Regions from separate parts of the Homo sapiens genome. Here region 2 is linked to region 1. The links are contacts of gene promoters, found by promoter capture Hi-C in human tissues and cell types (Jung and others, 2019). All regions are on one chromosome and are shown on one strand. Each heading gives the region's core, a stretch centred on a gene start or on the middle of the fragment in contact. The rest is flanking DNA. Distances are from core to core; before and after follow the strand shown.

Region 1 (5,183 bases), core at 1,869-4,368:
GGCGTGGGGGCTCACACCTGTATTCACCAGCACTTTGAGAGGCCAAGGCAGACAGATTGCCTGAGGTCAGGAGTTCGAAACCAGCCTGGCCAAAATGGTAAAACCCCATCTCTACTAAAAATATAAAACTTAGCCAGGCATGGTGATGGGCGCCTGTAATCCTAGCTACTAGGGAGGCTGGGGCAGGAGAATCACTAGAACCTGGGAGGCGGAGGTTGCAATGAGCCAAGATCACGCCACCGCACTCCAGCCTTGGCAACGAGAGCAAGACTCCATCTCAAAAAAAAAAAAAAAAAAAAGGAAAAGAACACTAGGGACACGGTCTTGCTGTGCCACTCAGGCTGGAATGCAGTGATGCGATCATAGCTTACCACAGCCTCAAACTCAACTCCTGAGCTCAAGCAATCCTACTGATCACTTAGTAGTCTCTGAGCCTACTCTGATCCTACTGATAGTGAGGACTACACATGCATGCCACCAGGCCCAGTTTTTTTTTTTTAGAGACAAGGGTCTTGCTAAGTTGCCTAGACTGGTCTCAAACTCCTGGCCTCACACGATCCTCCTGCCTCAGCCTTCCAAAGCACTGGGATTACAGGTGTTAGCCACTGTGCCTGGCCATAAAATTCTTTTTTTGTTTTTCTTGAGACATTGTATCACTCTGTCACCCAGAATGGAATGCAGTGGCATGATCTCAGCTCACTGCAACCTCCACCTCCCCGGTTCAAGCTATTCTGCCACATTAGTTACCAGGTACTTGGCACATTTGTTAACTGTTGGCTTTTTCTTTCAAGTCAGTACAGTCTCTGGTTCTGGATATACCTGCCTCATGTAGGGTTCCCAGAGTTACAAAAACGAAGAATAACTGTCAAGCAACTTTACACTGTTCTGCTGGCATCTAACAAAAAGAGCATTAGAGATTTCCAGAGAGCACACACGTGTATTCCTTCCTTCCTCAAATCCCACTAAAAGAAGATAAAGATAGATAAAGGGAAATAAAATCCGTACCAGGAGAAGGAATAAATGCCACCAGTGAATGACAGATGGTAACCAACTTCAGGAAAATGAAAAGTTGTTGGAATATTGACCTACAAACCAGAGTAGGACAAAGTAAAATAAGAATATGCACCAAGGCCGGGCGCGGTGGCTCACGCCTGTAATCCCAGCACTTTGGGAGGCCGAGACGGGCGGATCACGAGGTCAAGAGTTCAAGACCAGATCAGCCTAACCAAGATGGTGAAACCCTGTCTCTACTAAAAATACAAAAAAAATTAGCCGGGCGTGCGCGCGCCAGTAATCTCAGCTACTCAAGAGGCTGAGGCAGAAGAATCGCTTGAACCCAGGAGGCGGAAGTTGCAGTGAGCCGAGATCGCGCCACTGCGCTCCAGCCTGGGCGACAGAGCGAAACTCCTTCTCAAAAAAAAAAAAAAAAAAAAAAACGCATTAGGGAGAAATGCTATTCCTACAAGCTGAGCCGAGCTAGAGGTTTCAAGCTTGAAGTCAGTGGGCCCAAGGATCATAAACTGGCAGCGCGACAATAACCATGGAAATCACTCAGTCCTCCTCCCTCCCCAATCTCCAAGCAAAAAGTCCAAAATAGTTATGTTTGTCTCCAAGATAAAATCAAAAGTTTTTTAGAAATGAAGGGGTAGGACCCCTACTGTGAATACTGGTGTTAAGAGTACACAGCAGAAACTTAGGCTTAATAATTTTACAGTTCACACGGAGGAAATAAACAGCTATACTCAGCAGAGAAGTTGCTCCACCACTACTGCAAAGCCTGAAGCAAAAGGCAGGTTCCCAGTCTACCCATCTGGTACCTGCTCACATGCCCTCAACTGAAACCTTCCTATCTAGGCAACCTGGTACAGAGCCAAAAGTCAATTAGCGACCCATGTACTGAAAACAAGACCTATTACTCATATTAATCAAAATATAGACAGATAACCAGTGCCCATCACATGTTCGAGAAAAAGCAACAGAAGGAAACAGGACCAAAAAGACACAGAACAATTGACCAACAGTAAGTAAATTATTTAGGAAATAGATTTTTCTAATTATCATCTTTGTAGATTCAAGACTTTTAATATCTATAAAATAAGAAAAGGCTGCTGCACCTAGGACCCTGTGTTTACTAACTCAAAGAATAAAAACTGGAGAAGGGAAGAACAGAAGGAGGCAGTGTAAGACACCATAAATCCCTAAATTTAACCACAATAGACAAATTATTAAAAAAAAGGAGGTAGATAGTAAATATAATATATTGTCCACCCTGGAAAGGGGACAGGGGGAATAGTGATTTTACTTTTCATTTTACATTTTCAAGTTGTTTTAACTATGTACATGTATTAATACTAATAATAATGTTTTAAGTATTAACCATAAAAAAATGGCACGGGACACCACCACCCCAAACAATTGCTATTTAAACTCTCTCGTGATACTAACAATGATTTACAGAGAATGGCAAATTTCAAAATCAGAAGTCAAGAAGGGTCCCTGCCACTCGTTTTCCTCAAAAGGCAGATAAAATATTTTAGAGCCTTTTTGAAAACTTGTATATGACTATAAAAACCCGAGAGGCAAAGCAAAGCCTACAGAATACGCCAGAAAAAAAAGCTGCTTCCCACCCCCAACTCAAGGTCTAGGGCAAAGGAGCCGGTAGTAGGAGGGTGGAATACCTGAACGCCTGGATGCCGCGGCAGCGCGAGGACCTGATAGTCACAGAGGCCAAGGCCAGAGAGAGAGACACCGCGGCTAAAGCCTTTCCCAGGAGGCGTCCCGCCATGAGCGCCCCGAGGGCGGCTTTGCGATGCTAGGTCGCTCTTAGTTGGTGCCTCCGCCTCCCCACACCCCACAGCTCCGAGTCCCGGCCGCGGGTATCTGATGGGCACTAGGACCTGTCTGCCGTTGGGTTCCCGAACGGGAGTAGCTGTGCCTATCTATAAATCACAGATCAAGAGCCCTCCCACGATAAGAGTCCACCGCTTTCCCCAGTGCATCGAGAAAAATCCAGACCAGCACGTGACGCCGAAGCCTCCAGCGCCAGCTGCCTGGGGAAACCGCGGCCACGAACCTCGTAACTTTCTCTCTGCGTAATGGCGCTTTACGGCCGCGCCGCAAAGCAAAGGTCGTGCGTTGCCGGCTTGGTAGCGCCTTCCTTCTCCGACTTCCCAGACTTCCCAGTCTGCGCAGGCTTACTTGGGGACGCAGGGAACTACCAAGAAAGTGTCAGAGGAAAGGAAAGGTGAAACAGACGAGGAACTGGAACGGGAATAAGTGGGAAAGAAGCCAAGGGGTTTGAGAGAGACTTGCTGCCCTGGGTTTTTGGTTTTTGTTTTTTGAGACAAGAGTCTGGCTCTGTCGCCCAGGCTGCAGTGCAGGGGCGCGATTTCAGCTCATTGCCGCCTCAACCTCCTGGGCTTAAGCGAGTCTCTTGTCTCAGCCCCCGACGTAGCTGGGACTACAGGCACACACCGCCATACCTGGCTAATTTTTGTATGTTTTGTAGCGACAGATTTTTGCCATGTTGCCCAGGCTGGTCTCCAACTCTCAAGCTCAAATAATCCAACTGTTTGGGCCTCCCACAGTGCTGAGGTTACAGGCCTCAGCCAACGCGCCTGGCCCTGCTCTGGTTTTTTTAGGGAGTAAGTTGTTGCGGAAGGACGCAGGTCTTAGCCATATTTTTGAATAATACTTCGTTATGGGAATGAAACCGCCTTTGCAAAATTATGACTGATTTGGGAGGCCGAGGCGGGATCACTTGCAGTCAGGAGTTCAAGACCAGCCTGGCCAACGTGGTGAAACCTCGTCTCTACTAAAAATACAAAAATTAGCTGGGCATGGTGGTAAACGCGCCTGTAGTCCCAGCTGCTCAGGAGGATGAAGCAGGAGAATCGCTTGAACCCGGGAGGTGGAGGTTGCAGTGAGCCAACGTCGCACCACTGCACTCCACCCTGGGCGACAAGAGTGAAACTACGTATCAAAAAAAAAAAGAAAAAACCTCTGCTCCCTGAATGCTCAGGGAGACTGATTTGAGTAATAATAGAACTCCGGTCTCACACAGCTGGCTCTGCATGAATTACTCTTTCTCTATTGCAATTCCCCTGTCTTGATGAATCAGCTCTGTCTAGGAAGCGGGAAAGGTGAACCCCTTGGGCGGTTACAGCAAGAGGAGATAGTCCAGAGACTCAGCCCTCGTATCTTGAAGGGTTTCTTGGTTTTTTGTTTTTGTTTTCTTAACCAAGTTGTCTGCTCCAATTGCTGGATTTCATTCACAAGGCTTTGCTAGGACCAGTTGTGGCCCTTGGAAACTCGTGGAGGAGAAAAGCTGTGAAAATAGGCACACATGCTGGAGGAGGAACAGAGGGCAACACACATAATACTGGATAATAAACTTGAGAGGCAAAAATTAAACAAACCGACAAACAAAGTTGGAAACCCAGACTGTCCAAAGCAGCTTGTAATCAGGCTTACTTCATTTATATTAGCTTATTGATGTGGCAACTATTTGACTTTTACTTACATGATCCGCTGTTTCTGTGGTGTGGTTCCAATACACCGACGTTACAAAACTTTGACCATCTTAAAAGCCAGATTAATCGAATTTTAACAACCATTGTTCTGAAAACTGCAGAACTCTCGACAGGTATTGACTGTTCAAACTACACTGTCAACCTAGACGCTGAGGCACGAGATAGAACTTAAAGCATTTACTTTAGCCAAAGTGAGGACAGCTGCCCAGAAGACCCAGACCCAAGTAACCTTAAATGTGAACTCCTGTCCACCTTTGTTACAATCAGGTTTTTAAAGGCAAAAAGGGGACAGGGAGTTGACTGATACAAAGTTGTAAAGAATTACTGGTTTGTAGAAATAGTATTGGTTAGTGGTTGGCTATACGTTAAGCTATAGGGTGCGAGTTACAGTGTCCAGTGTACCATTATTAGGTTAATTTTTAGCTACTTGTGGCTATAGTAAGCAGTTTAAAGAGATGAATGCATAACAAAGTGGGGAGTAGGATGTAATTGCTGTCTCATTTTAATGTCTCTCTGGGCCTGGTAATTTAAAAGGATTTACCTTCCTCATATAAAAGTTCTTTTCTCGGCACTGAGAGATTTGATTATACTCTAGCATAGCTTCCAGTAGCTTAAGGCCTTGTCCCTAGGCTGACCCCAGATCCCGTTAAA
Region 2 (5,183 bases), core at 1,441-3,940, 580 kb before region 1:
GCCATGCTATTCAAGAACATTATGAAATACATTTTTATTGTGTGCCATCTCCTGGTTTTGTCAGATGCAGATTATGATATTTATTATCTATATTTTTATCCAAGTTCAAAAGAATTTTGAACAAATTGGGGCCAAGAACAGAGTTCTTTGAAATACTGTGTGCAGCTCTTCTCTTCATCAACTCTAGTTTATTCACTAGTACTGTTTGGGTATAGTTGTATTTTAAAAAAACTTTAAATCCAATTTTCACTAGCCCAGATTTTTCCAAAGCTTATCACAATTTTTTTTCAAATACCTTTTGATGCCAACATGAATGAGGCTTCCAGCATTCCCAGATCTACCAGACTTTGCAGAGTACCTGTTTTATGTCCCCTTCGTACAATCTTAGATATGATTAGGATGCTAAAGAAGTTGTTTATGCCTGCAAGAAGCTTGTAACTAGCTTGCTATACATGGATAAAACATTTAACCAATAAGAGCTTTATGACATTCTTCTGGGAAGTTTTTTTTGTTTTGTTTTATTTTAAATAAAGATTCTGGAGTCTAACTTCTAGGGATTCTGATTCATTATGTCTCAGCTAGGTCCTAGGAATCTGTATTTTAAGAGAGTAGATCAAAGAGACAGAGAAAGACTAGGTTCTCAGGACATCATTTGAACCCCTGAGTTAGAACTAATTGAAGCTAGATCCACCCCTGGACTCCATGAGCCAAAAAATATCCTTTTAAAAAATTAAAAAAATTATTTCAACTTTACCCTTGCCCCTTTCCCTCCCTCCCTCCTCTTGTATTCCCCACTGTCTATTGTTGCCATCTTTATCCATGGGCACCCAAAGGTTAGCTCCCACTTATAAGTGAGAACATGTGGTATTTGGCTTTCAGTTACTATGTTAATTTGTTTAGGTTAATGGCCTCCAGCTGCATCCATGTTGCTGCACAGGACATGATTTTATTCTTTTTCATAGCTTCATAGTATTTCATAGTGTATAGTACCATGTTTTAAAAAATCCAATCCATCATTGATGGGCACCTAGATTGACTCTATGTCTTTGCTATTATGAATAGTGCTGCAATGAATATACAGGTACACATGTCTTTGTAATATTATTTACAGCATTCCCATCAGCAATAAATAAGAGTTCTTTTTCCACATCCTCAACAGCAGTAGCATTATCAGTGTTTTGGATTTTGGCCATTCAAATGGGCGGGCAATTGGATCTCGTTGTTTTAATTTGCAATTCCTTATTGACATATATGTGGAGCATCTTTTCATATGCTCAGTTGCCATCTGTATATCTTCTTTGGTAAGGTGTCTGTTCAGGTTGTTGGCTCATTTTTTCCTTTTATTTACTGGGGAAAAGCATGAATGCAGTATGCTGCTACCACAAATTACGCAGTTGAGTTTCCCACATTTGGAGAAATCACAGGGATCAGCAAGTCTTCAGTGGAATAGAGAAGCCTTGCCCTAGGGAAAACTACCCTTGTGGTCATGGTATCTACCCTGCCTGGTAAGTCTTTTGGGCCTATTTTTCAATCGGGTGGCTTATTTTCTTGTTGAACTTTAAGGGTTCTTTGTATATTTTGAATCACAATCCTTTATCAGATAGGTCTTTTGCAAATATTTTCTTTCAGTCTGTGGCTTATCTTCAATTTTTTTTTTTTTTTTGAAATTTTATATTAAGATAACTTTTTATTCAATAGATCAATAACATTCAGTGTTAATAAATATAGGCAATAGGTATTCTCATCTATGTGCTTTTGGTGAGATTATAATAATGTAGTGAAGGCTTTTCGGAAGATAGTTGGGCAGCATATATTACTATTTAAAAAGTGCATTCCATTTGATCCAACAATTCTAGTTCTTAGTTTCTGTGGTAAGACAACAGTCCTATGTATACAAAGGGTATATGCTGGGGGCACGTTATACATAGGGTAGGACTGGAGGACTAAGGCAAAGAAACATATTCTCTGTTGGCTTCTGTACACTTTATATTACTTAAGTAATTATTTTAAGTGCCCAAGAATTTGAAAGTAAGGTGGGTCTAGAAGTCTGTCATAGGTTTCATCAACAAAATTAAGCCTTGTCTACTTTTTTTTTTATTTTTATTTTTAATTTTTTTTTAATTTATCAACTTTTTTCAGTAGCTGATATAGTTTAGCTCTGTGTCTCCACTCAAATCTTATCTCCAGTTGTAATCCCCACATGTCAAGGGAGGGAGGTGATTGAATTATGAAGGCAGTTTCCCCCATGCTGTTCTCGTGATAGTGAGTGAATTCTCATGAGATCTGATGGTTTTATGAATGGCAGTTTTTCCTGCATCCTCACTTCTCTCTCCTGCCACCAGGTGAAGAAGGTCCTTGCTTCCCCTTCTCCTTCCGCCATGATTGTAAGTTTCCTGAGGCCTCCCCAGCCATGTAGAACTGTGAGTCAATTAAACCTTTTTCCTTTATAAATTACCCAGTCTTGGATAGTAGCTTTATAGCAGTGTGAAAATGGACTAATACAGTAGCCTTTGACCTTTCTTCTTAAAGATAAGGATATTAGCAAATGTAAACTTTTTACCAACAAACACCTTTTAAAATAAATATCTTTTACATTTGCCAAAGTCTATAAACTTTCATTTTGTGGTACAACAGTAAATATAACTTATTTTATATATTTTAATTTTTCATTGTTCACTACCAGTACTTTTTTAAAAGTATATTATCTTTATAGATAGTCATTAACATATTGTTAAATTTATATTTTATAGAAGATAGTTCCTAGTATTGTTTAATTTGTAGAGATAAAAGAGAAAATATGCAGATCCAACTTCTAAGAGCATTCAATATTATACACCAAGCTTATTCCTGAAAACAATGACCCAGAAAACCACATGAAAGAGTTTTATTATGGATATCCTAAAACAAGTAACTATAAGTTTCAGATATATATAGAATATTCCACAGTTCCTATAATAAAAATTCATGAGTTTTCTGATCACCTTCAATGTTTGTACTGAGTTAACACACCGCTGTTACATTAAAGCAAACCATTAAAAATAAAGCTAGTTTTCTCTCTTTTTTTCAACTTTTATTTTAGACTCAGAGGTATATGTGCAGGTTTGTTACCTGGGTATATTGTGTGATGCTGAGATTTGGGGTATGAAAGATCATGTCATCCAGGTACTGAGCATAGTACCCAATAGTTAGTTACTACCAGTACTTTACTAACATGAATTTTTCTTCCTTGAATTTTTTTCTCTTTATTTAAACCTTCTGGAGTAGATTTTTTATTAGGTGTTTTTTTTTTGGTTTGTTTTCAAAGAACAACCCATTAATGCTTCATTATTCCCCAAAACTGTTTAAAATTAAGAAGGCCTTTCTGTTACCATAGACATAAAACGAATGGATTGGGCATTATATTTTTCAGTTTAATCTTTTCTCCTCCTCTTTAGGATTTTCTAAATATTCCTCCACTTTCCTCTGCCATTAAATGTTGTTATGGGAAAAGTAGGAGGTCAGATTAAACCCATTGTTTTTCTCTCAGGCTGAGTAGATGAGTATTTTATTATGATTATTATTTGGCCCAAAAGTTATGTCTGTTTAGTGAAATTATTATTATTACTATTGTTATTGTTATCCTGCTCTCAGATACATCTTTCTGTTGATTATTCAGCATAATTATTTACCTAGGAGATATTGTGCATGTTTAATCAGCAAATTCAAATTTTTACTTATTTTAACAAGGTTTTCTTCTTTTATAATTTCAAATAATCTGCTGTTTCATTAATTCTGTAAATTTAGCAATACCTATTACGCATATGTTGAGCTACTGTGTCATGTTTCTGTATTATCTCCTTTCTAATTTCTCTTTCTGTCATTTTCTATTTTTATTTTTAATAGGATTTTTATAAATCTTGACCTTCATATTATTGTACCATTCATGATTTTGTGGTTTTAAAGGTGGCTTTTCTTTTCCTAATTATTTATTGAAAATCTTTAATTCCTCCTGTGAATTCTGCCAGCTCACTTTTCATTTTTCCATGGTCATGTATTTTATTTTATATTTTTCATTCTTTTTTAAAGTTAAAATTATTTTTAAAGGATTTCTGTTCCTGGCTCTGATGGAGCAACACGGACAGATTTACCCTCTTACTTAAACAAAATACAGACAAAATTTATAAAGGATGGTTCTGAAACATGGGACAACAGGCAGTATAAACAGTAATTTTTCAAAGAAGATAAAAAAAGGAAGTAAACCCTATGGTTTCTCTACTGATTCCCTAGAAAGAGATTTCAAGCTATCAGTCTCACTCAATTGAGAAGACAGAGTTCATTGAGAATTTGGGGAAAGTCAAAGTGGACAGAATTCACAAAGAACTAAAAAAAAGAGTATTGTGCAGAGAAAGAGCTCCAGCTACCTCCACAGAGTTTCCCTTGAGTTTTCAGATCATGCGTTTGGTGAACCCACCTGAGGCAAGGGAAAGAACTACCAGAAAGAAGCAGGTGGAAAAATTCCTGATGTTCACATAGACCGGGAAATTTCTCAAGTTTTTGTCATCTGAATTGAAGAAATCTTATACTGTATGAGGTGTTGAAGAGAATACTCAGAAGGACAATGCCTCCGTAGTAGGACCAAACTAGCCTAGAGTAAAGGCTGGTCTGTCTTGTATGACTCCTTGTGAAACTATTCTGCTGAGTATGTCACCAATTTTCTTAGCGAATCTAAGTGATTCCAAGTAATAAGTTGAAATTTTCACTATTTGTATGTTTTTATTGATTATTCATTGTGGTTCTAATAGTTTTTGGTTTATAATATTTTGTTGGTCTGTTATTTGCTGCATAGTGGTTTATGATAGTTATATCTTTATTGGATCTTTAACAATGTAGAATAAGTTCTTTGTTTCATTTCATGTTATTTGTTTCTAAATTTTACTTCTTATTTAACAGTAATGTTGCAAATCTTTAAAAATGTTTTACTTTATTTGTAAGGAAAACACCTAAAGCAAAGTGAAACAATAAGTGATGTAGGATCTATTATTATTATTTTCCATCATGTGAATCTTTGTCTTAACAGAGAGGCTTCGTCTATTTATATTTGTTGTTACAATTGATTTCTTTCATCATTCTGTTATTTCAGTGTTTCTCTTGAAAAATAGGTTCTTGTTATTCAATGATTTAGTTTTCACTTTATGTATCGTTTT

What was found. Contacts are between HindIII fragments. The study calls those that stand out against the background at their distance.
Region 2: a fragment that was not itself captured here is called in contact with the fragment with the promoter of NUDT9 in region 1 in 1 of the 25 tissues and cell types used here (liver).

Annotation. Positions count from the first base shown.
Region 1 is chr4:87,420,508-87,425,690 of GRCh38, reverse strand. It overlaps NUDT9 (nudix hydrolase 9), which reads right to left and starts at 3,118. Exons shown (of 8, transcript NM_024047.5): 1 at 2,679-3,118. The coding sequence starts at 2,785. RefSeq lists enhancers at 747-1,248, 1,249-1,752, 2,296-3,230, 3,300-3,349. The HindIII fragment of the contact is 9,950 bases long and covers 1-5,183 here.
Region 2 is chr4:87,996,567-88,001,749 of GRCh38, reverse strand. It overlaps the pseudogene RNU1-36P. Among named protein-coding and RNA genes, the nearest start is that of PKD2, 8.5 kb to the left of the region's middle. The HindIII fragment of the contact is 5,272 bases long and covers 55-5,183 here.